2 separate regions of the Homo sapiens genome follow, and region 2 is linked to region 1. Evidence: promoter capture Hi-C in 16 types of primary human blood cells and fetal thymus (Javierre and others, 2016). All regions are on one chromosome and are shown on one strand. The core of a region is centred on a gene start or on the middle of the fragment in contact, and the rest is flanking DNA. Distances in the headings are between cores, read along the strand shown. Region 1 holds the start of CERS5 (ceramide synthase 5). Region 2 overlaps ASIC1 (acid sensing ion channel subunit 1).

Region 1 (4,534 bases), core at 770-3,269:
CAGAAACAACCAGATTGGTTACAGATCAGCGTTTGTCTCATTTGAACGTGGTTGGAACAGTTGGCTACATTTGATTGGCCAAAATTCAGTGATTGGCACTGGTGTGGTCTACGTTCGATTTACACCTCCACTTGTTACAGTTCACAATGTACAGAAAACCTTTAGGCCGAACTTAAATATGTAAGGAGGCAGCTTTAGATTAAACTTGACTTAACACTAGCTACCACTTCTTACCTACATAACTTTGGGCAAGTTGTTTGGCCTCACTGGACCTCAGTTTACTTATCCAGTGGGGATAACAAGATCAACTTTATAGGGTGAAGGAGTGAAATAACCTGTGTAAAATGTTCCATGCAGTGCCTGGCACACAGGAAACCTCATCAAACATTGGCTATTTATTTTGTTTTGCCTTTAGGTCCTTTAGATATACTTTTTTTTTTTTTTTTTTTGAGACGAGTCTCACTTTGTCGCCCAGGCTGGAGTGTAGTGGCGCAATCTGGGCTCACTGCAAGCTCCGCCTCCCGGGTTCACGCCATTCTCCTGCCTGAGCCTCCCAAGTAGCTGGGACTACAGGCGCCCGCCACCATGCCTGGCTAATTTTTTGTATTTTAATAGAGATGGGGTTTCACCGTGTTAGCCAGGATGGTCTCGATCTCCTGACCTCATGATCCGCCCGCCTCGGCCTCCCAAAGTGTTGGGATTACAGGCGTGAGCCGCGCCCGGCCTTTTTTTGTTTGTTTTTGTTTTGAGACGCTCTGTTGCCTAGGCTGGAGGGCAATGGCGTGGTCTCGGCTCACTGTGATCTCCGCCTCAAGCAATTCTCCTGCCTCAGCCTCCCGAGTAGCTAGGATTACAGGCATGCACCACCACACCCGGGTAATTTTTGTATTTTTAGTAGGGACGGGGTTTCACCATGGCCAGCCTGGTCTCGAACTCCTTACCTCAGGTGATTCTTCCGCCTTGGCCTTCCAACGTGCTGGGATTACAGGCGTGAGCCACCACACCCGGCCTGCCTTTACGTATACTTTTTGAGTGCTTCCCTTTTCACTTTGTTTTTCTTCCATTTCCTTTTCCCCAAGAGAAGAATAAAAGGATTTTTGTAAACTTTTTTTATTTTTATTTTGGGACGGAGTCTTTGGTCTGTCGCCCAGGCTGGAGTGCAATGGCGCGATTTCGGCTCACTGCGACCTCCGCCTCCCAGGTTCAAGCGATTCTCCTGTCCCAGCTTTCCGAGTAGCTGGGATTACAGGCACAGCGCCACCAGGCCCAGCTAATTTTTGTATTTTTAGTAGAGACGGGGTTTTGCCATGTTGGCCAGGCTGGTCTCGAACTCCTGACCTCAGGTGATCCGCCAGCCTCGGCCTCTGAAAGTGCTGGGATTACAGGCGTGAGCCACCGCGCCCGGCCTTTTGTAAACTGTTAAGTCCATTTTTTCTGAGGAAAAGTGACTAATTTTTAAGGGATAAAGCAGTGAAAGTAGGCTGAGGTCACGGGGCACGAAGGGAAGAAAAGGTTGGGAGCGAAAAGAACTCTAGTGGCGGACAGTAGTGGGCAGGACCAGCTGACATCCAAGAGAAGCCCTGACCTGAGAGATCGATCTGGCCTCCGGGAGTGGAGACAGAGGTACCGCCTGGGTGGGAGCCGGAACGGATTCGATTCCAACAGGCTGAGAAAGGAGAATGTCCCCGTAAAGGAGCTAGGCCTGAAATAAGGGGTGTGGCCGTAGCTGGATGGAAGAGTGAGGGAGGAGTAGAAGCGTGGCCTAGACCAGCAGCAAAAGAGGGCGGGCCCAGGGCCGCCCGAGGCGTGGTCCCAGGGCCGGGCTGGGCGAGTCAGAGGCTCGGGAAGGGGCGTGGATCCCCGGAGGCGGTCCCCGGGTTGCAGTGAGGGAAGTGGGCCGGGAGGAGAGATGGGCGGTGAAGAGGCCCGGCCCTGCCAGGGAGGCGGGCGGATCCGTGGCAGTGACCAGAAGGGGCCGGAAGGGGGTGGCCGCCGGCCGGGCCCCGCCCTGGGGCCGCCTCCCCGCGGGTTCCGTTGGCTGTGGCGGCAGCTGACGCTTGTGGCGGCGGTGGCTTCGGGGTGGGCGTAAGATGGCGACAGCAGCGCAGGGACCCCTAAGCTTGCTGTGGGGCTGGCTGTGGAGCGAGCGCTTCTGGCTACCCGAGAACGTGAGCTGGGCTGATCTGGAGGGGCCGGCCGACGGCTACGGTTACCCCCGCGGCCGGCACATCCTCTCGGTGTTCCCGCTGGCGGCGGGCATCTTCTTCGTGAGGCTGCTCTTCGAGCGGTGAGAGCCCGGGAGCGAGCGGCTCGGGGGCCGGGCGCGGGCCGGGGGCGCCCCGCTGTGGGAAGGGCCGAGGGCCGGAAGCAGAACTGCAAGGAAAGCCCGGAAGCAGGGGCTGGGGGAGCTTGGGCCGCGGCGGGTGATGCTAGGCGCGTGGGCGAGGTGGTAGCCTAGATGGAGAAGGAGTTTGGGGCGTGGGCAAGAGAAAGAGTGAGGGTCTAGGGGAATGCTGGGCCCCTTCAATGTTAGATCCGGAGTTGGATTGGGGGGGTCATATAGGCCTCCTCCCAACCTCCAAGGGTCCTACAGATGAGGAAACAGGTTCAGTGTGAGCTCTGGCAGAGGCCCCGAAGAGAGGGATAGGAAGGGGCCAGGAGAACCAGAGCTAGTTGTGACCATGGAAGCCGAGGGGTCAACGCAAGGGCCAGACGTTCCAAGGGAAAGGAATGGACTCATCAGACTCTTAAGATTTGTTAGGACGCTTGAGTTTCCGAGAATTGGGGGGAACAGGATTAGTTTGGCCCTAAGAGTTGGTTTGGTATGTCAACTCATGCACGTTTGTTGGTAGGAGGGTAGAAATCTGGTTGGGATAGGGTGTGGTGGAGCCCTAGGCTTCCAAAGTAATGGAAAGATGTCAGATTAGTTGCAGAACAGGCCTTGGGGCCTGAAATGGAAGGAGGAGTGTGTTCGAAGGGATGGAGGAGAGCCACAGGGCTTTATCAGAGGACAGCTATATTGAGCCAGATTCTTTTTTCTTTTCTTTTTTTTTTTTTTTTTTTTGAGACAGAGTTTCGCTCTTGTTGCCCAGGCTGGCGTGCAATGGCACGATCTCGGCTTACCGCGACCTCCGCCTCCCCTGTTGAAGCGATTCTCCTGCCTCAGCCTCCCGAGTAGCTGGAATTACAGGCACGCGCCACCACGCCCGGCTACTTTTTGTATTTTTAGTAGAGACGGGGTTTCGCCATGTTGGCCAGGCTGGTCTGTAACTCCTGACCTCAAGTGATCCGCCCGCCTCTGCCTCCCAAAGTGCTGGGATTACAGGCGTGAGCCACCGCACCCGGCCTTGAGCCAGCTTCTAAATGAGTTTAGCAGAATTGCAGTATACTTTGTTCAACCACATGATTTCACCTTTAAGTGAATGGATCATATGTTTGTCCAAGATAAAGATATTCACTGAGGCTTTGGTGTGTGATATTATAATGTGAATTTATACCTGTGGGTGATTTTGATCAAGTCTACTCAGACTCCAAGAAAGGAGACATGTTTCTGCCATAGGCCTCAGGTAATGAGGGTGGTTCTTGGACATCTGTTCGTTTTGCCTTTATCCAAGCATAAATGATTGTAATGCAGGAATGCCCTTTCTAGGATGGGAATATGTTGCAGGTGAAATAATCTGTTAATTTCTGAAAGATAGCATCTGTTTGGGATTGCTTCTTTGATTTGCCTACTGTTTTTGACTCAAGTCTTTCAAAATCTTGTGTTCTATTTAGCTAGTCACGCATCCATTTATTCGTAGTATTTGTGCATCATCATCATCAAAATGCTCTGCCAGACGTTCAAGTGCAAAAATAAAGATGCTTAAGTGAAGCAAATGAAACCCAAAGATCTAAATGGCTTTCCTTGGCCCTCAGGAACTTAGTGTAGCAAGGTTTTTTTTTTTTTCTTTTTCTTTTTCTTTTTTTTTTGAGACGGAGTCTCGCTCTGTCGCCCAGGCTGGAGTGCAGTGGCGCGATCTCAGCTCACTGCAAGCTCCGCCTCTCGGGTTCACGCCATTCTCCTGCTTCAGTCTCCCGAGTAGCTGAAACTACAGGCGCCCGCCACCATGTCCGGCTAATTTTTTGTATTTTTAGTAGAGACGGGGATTCACCGTCTTAGCCAGGAAGGTCTCGATCTCCTGACCTCGTAATACGCCTGCCTCGGCCTCCCAAAGTGCTGGGATTACAAGCGTGAACCGCCGCGCCCGGCCTTGTTTTGTCTTTTTACGTGTAATCGTTGTAGTTAGTCATCCTGGAGTGGAGGCACAAACTGCTTGTCTGTCTTTGGAATAAACTAGATCCAGGTACTCTCTTCCATAGTCTCTGTATATGAGGGCCAAAAAAAAAAAGGAGGAAGGCAATGTAATCACTACAAAGGAAAATACACAAGTCAGGACAAATTTTTTTTTAAAAGGTGATTTTCATAGAAAAACATCTCTGCTTTTCATATAAATATGTGCCAATATGGAAATTTCCCCATGTTAGTGGTAAGAGG
Region 2 (4,574 bases), core at 1,368-3,867, 100 kb after region 1:
CAGCTAGGCACCCCTTCTCATTCTCGCTGTCTCCTTCCAGCTTTGCCTCCCAGAATGCACACCTAAGGGTCCTGACTGGGACGTTATAGGTCAGAAGGTAGAGGCTTCTGCATTGGCCACCCCAAACATACAAGTGAGGGAAAGCTTGGGGGTGGGGGTGGGCAGGGGTTGGCCAAGGCGGAAGAATGGCCGGAGAGAATTGGCCGGTTGATTTAGTTAGCTGGGGAGACACCAACATATTCTATGAACCTGGCATTTTCCGAGAGGCTGAGTTTGGCTGGGGAGATTGGGAGGACTCCCCCTGGATGTTGAGAGTCTGCTCATCCCCAGCATGTTCCCCCTTGTTCTGAAGCCCACCCCACTGGGCCCCCTTTAGTACCACCCCCATGGCTCTCAGCCCTGAACCTTCCGTGCTGCACTTAACTGCCCCAGCGCAGGACCTGGCACATGGAAGTGGCACTGTCTGCTATGGGAATGAATCCAGTGGAGCTTAACGCTCCCCTAATCCCAGCTTCTCATTCTGAATATTCTGTCTCCCTCGCTATCCCCAGAGAATTGAAATTACTTTCCACAAAACTGAAACACACTCAGAAGCAACCTCCATCCACAGCAGAACATTCCAAGCCTCTCTGTGGGCCTGCCCTTCTGCCTCCAGGACACACTGGGCATGCAGTGGCCATATCCAGGAGTTCTCCACCAGCTGGGCAGTGACAAAGTCCCAAGACTTAGAGGTGCTCCTCCCCAGCCCTCCACTTCCAGGCTTGGCCCCCAGAGGCACTTAGTTACTGAATTCCCTATTGCTTTAGCCAACAGCCCCCAGGTCAATTAGCTTAGAGTAGTTCTTAGCTGATAGCTGTCTGAGAGAGGGATGGAGTCAGAAATGGCTGGGGTCTGGGGAGAAGGGGAAGAGGTGAGAGAGGAAATTGGGCTACCTGAAGGATGTTTGTGTGTATCTGTGTCTGAGAGAGAGGCAAAAGGAGACATCTGAGACCCCAACCCAGGGACCACCCACTGGATTCCTGCAACTGCAATGGGCTCTGCTCCCATCTCCTCTCTCCACCCACCTGTGTTCAGTTTAGGCACTTCCTAGGAGAGAGGGACAGATGAGAAGGATAAGGCAGGAGGTGGTAGCCATGAACCCCTAGGGCAGGAACCCTTCCCCCAAAGTTCATGAACCCCATGAACCCCTCCTCTAAAGTTACTGTCTCCAGGTCGGCCTCTTCTATCCCTCTGCAATCTGTGCATGTTCCCCCTTCCCACCCATGAAGACCACCAGGCCTCTGGGTGGGGCTGCCCAAGATTCCCCTTCCCCTGTCTGCATGGCAGTCTGGGCAGCCTTTCCCTTCAGCAGCCCCTCCACTCCCTGCCTAGCTGGAGGGTGCAGACCCCAGTAGTAAGGTCAGGCCCTCCCAAGGGACTTCTGGTCTGAGCTTCTATGGGGCAGCATGGGGTGTGGGGATGAGGGGTGAGCCCTAGGGATGAATAAACTCCATGCTAGTCCTGGCTCTTGCTGGGCACTGCCATCCCTGGCTCTCCTGCTTTAAGATGACTTCTCTCTCCCCACTTTGGGTCCCAGGATCAGGCGCCCACAGCCACCTCTCATTGCAGCATCTTACTTCCCTAGGTGCTCCAGGGGATGCCCGGGCCCCTTCAGAACCTAGCAGTGGATTGCAGGGGAGGCTTCTGTGCTCATCCCCATTCACTCCACCTCTTCCCTGGGAGATTCTGGTCTCCAATCCAGGGTCCTGAGAAGGACTCCTGTGGACCCCTCCCAGGGATTCCTGTCCCCCAATTTCACCCTCCTGAGAGAGATTATGAGTCACACCACATGTCCACCCCAGCATTTCCACTCTGTCCTCCTCTTCCTTCTCTTCCAGGCCCCAGAAATGAATTCCTGCTTCTCTCTCCGCTAGGCAAAGGGTCTAGGTCTCAGCGGAGGAGGGGGTGGCATAGGGCAGACTGGGTGACCATCTGCCAGCCCCCTCCCCTTGCTGCTGCTCAGCATTCTGGCCACATCAGCTGCTCCCACTGCCAGGGACAGATAAGGTGCAGCTGGAGGATGGCACCAGCTGCGACTGTGCTCACTTCTCTGGCCCCCACCCAGACACCAGCAGACAGCTGCACCCCAGCCCCCCTCCATGGAATCCCTGCCCTGCCTTGGCCTGGCTGGCCTCAAGGTGGGGCAGGAGAGAGGAGCCATGGACCCCATTGTCTTGGCAACAACACACCCTACCAGGAAGAAAAGGAGGTGGCCGGGAAGAGGGGGCCTTGTGGTTGGGTCACTGTGGTTGCTCAGGAGGCAGCTATTGAAACCTTCCCAGCCAGGTTGCTGTGGGGATACTCCCTGCCCTGCCCTTCTCCCTCTTCAGTCCCGAAGGATTTCCAAACCAGTCTCTCCCAGATTCAGCTCAGGCTCCCCATATTCACCCCCACCCTCCCAAGCTGACTCAGCCACACCTGGGGGATGGACCCTGGCCAAATGCTTTGTGACCACCAACTATTCCCTGGGGTTGAGCTAGATCCAGGAGCACATCTGGAGAAATGCCTGTTACTGCAGATCCTCATCAGGGGAGCTGGGGTCTTTGAGTGACCAGAGTAGCCTCCCTGAATTGTCTTCTTATGCCTCCCCCAACCAGCCTTGAGAAACAGGGTTCTTATTGTTGAGAAGAGGGTTGCCCTTAGAAATCTACAAAAGAGTCCACACGTGCCCCCGCACGCTATACTTTGCAAAAGCATTGAGCAAGGTCTTGGACAGTGGGGGGTGGTATCCCACAGCAATCCTGTTGGATGGGGCCCAGCAGCTTCTTCCTGAGCTACTGAAAGAGCAAGCAAAGCCCTAACCACAAAGCCTCTCTTCCCTGACTACCTTCTTTCCTCAGTGAAGAACCTCTGCTCTGAAGGCTGCAGAAGATGCCAAGATGGTCTCCCTTAGATCGACCCTATAGACAGGTGTTTCCTGTCAGTGCTACATCTGCCCAGGGCTAGAGACACACTCCCAACACACCTCTTGGCCTAGCAGAGAATGGCAAGGATGTTAATCACAAGACTGAGGAGAGAAGGGAGAGCATGGAGTATCAGGCAAGGAGTGTGGGAGCCCTTAGGACTGGGGAGCTGGAGGAGAGAGACTGCCAGGCCCTTCTCCACCGGGGAGGTGTCAGACATGGACTCCAGCCAGACGCCCATCTGTGTGGGAACATCCCTATGGGTAGAGCTCTTGACATGGAGAGGGGCTGGCAATGAAACCAACTGAAGAGAGCAGAGGGAGGAGTGAGAGGTTTGAGTCCAGCAAAATTCAGGGTCAGGTCTTTGACATGGGCTGCAAAACAGCAAAAACCTGGTCTTCCCTGACAACCCAGAAGCAAGAAGGGGCACAGCTGGGGCTGCAGGGTGCTAGCCTGTGTGTCTTTACCCCTGAGTAAGAGGAATAATTCAGACTGCTCCAGAACTTTGTGAGCCAATCACATCTCCATCTGACTACTTAGAATGGTCCCCTCAGACAGCATGGACCAATCACATCTCAGTGTCTCCATTACCATCAACCAAATGTTATCTTAGCATCACCACTTGGAATCTTTCTGGACATGATGGACAGATGGAGCCTCAACTGAATACTTTCTATGGACTAACTGTGCCCAAATTTATATCTTAGCACCTCCTCAGATTGAGCCAAGCACTTCTCTCCCTCATCCAACACTACAAACCACTCAAACAAATACGTTTTCTCCATCTTTCTCACGGGTCCCTCCTGCTTGTGTGTTGGGTGTGTTGGAGGGAGGCGGCTCTGGCTTTTGCTTCCACCTTCACCTACAGTCCTGTTACTCTTGGGAGCATCACTTGTGAGACTGCAAACCCTCTGGTCTCAAGCTCTGGGGAATCCAGGACTCTCCTGTTATGAAGCAGTAAGAGAGGGAAGGAAGTGGTTCTTGCATCTTGGCTAAGCTCCCCATCAGCTTGGCTCAGCAAAGAGTGCAGTCATGTGAACTTTGTCCAGCAGGATTGACAAAGGCCAGTGAAACTGGTCTGCAGAGCAAGGCTTAAGGATATTGGGAGGTCTTGCACAGCTAGAAACACTAAGCATGACTATGGTGCCATCCTTTCTGCACAAATACAGTTCATATTCCCATACTGCAGGAGGAAGCAAGCAAGCGGGGAGAAAATAGGCAGGAAGAAGGAAGAGAATCCAAGAGCTGAGTAGGCATGGAGAGCAAAGGGTCCTGGAAAAGACTGGCAAGAATTTGAAGTGGACACAATAACCCCAGGGTCCACAATATTAATTAAAAGAGTAAAGGACATTTTCAGCTTAACAAGACATGAGTTCTAATCCTGAACCTGTCACCTGTCACTAACTGTGTGAGCTTGGGTAAATCATTCTGCCTGTGTCTCAGTTTCGTGCATTTGTAAAACAGAGGTAATGTGATTATGTATCAAGGGGATTGAGGGGAGCCTAGAAAGCATTTGAAAGAGTTACAAGCATTGTCCATTCATTTGGTGTTATTGTTCCTGCATGGCTCTGGAGCCTCTGGTCTCTTTGCCATCTGGGTCCAGGTCTTAACCCTCAGGAATCTGTGTGACTT

The links. Contacts are between HindIII fragments. The CHiCAGO score rates a contact against its expected background, and 5 or more counts as called.
Region 2: a fragment that was not itself captured here is called in contact with the fragment with the promoter of CERS5 in region 1 in 1 of 17 cell types (total B cells); the score reaches 5.7 in total B cells.

The regions. Positions count from the first base shown.
Region 1 is chr12:50,164,854-50,169,387 of GRCh38, reverse strand. It overlaps CERS5 (ceramide synthase 5), which reads left to right and starts at 2,019. Exons shown (of 10, transcript NM_147190.5): 1 at 2,019-2,287. The coding sequence starts at 2,091. It overlaps LOC124902931 (a long non-coding RNA gene), which reads right to left. Exons shown (of 2, transcript XR_007063304.1): 2 at 3,765-4,362. RefSeq lists enhancers at 670-1,431, 1,483-1,642, 2,533-2,672 and silencers at 1,743-2,142, 2,243-2,392. The HindIII fragment of the contact is 9,101 bases long and covers 1-2,121 here.
Region 2 is chr12:50,060,762-50,065,335 of GRCh38, reverse strand. The region is part of intron 3 of ASIC1 (acid sensing ion channel subunit 1); the gene reads right to left. Among named protein-coding and RNA genes, the nearest start is that of ASIC1, 5.5 kb to the right of the region's middle. The HindIII fragment of the contact is 4,941 bases long and covers 147-4,574 here.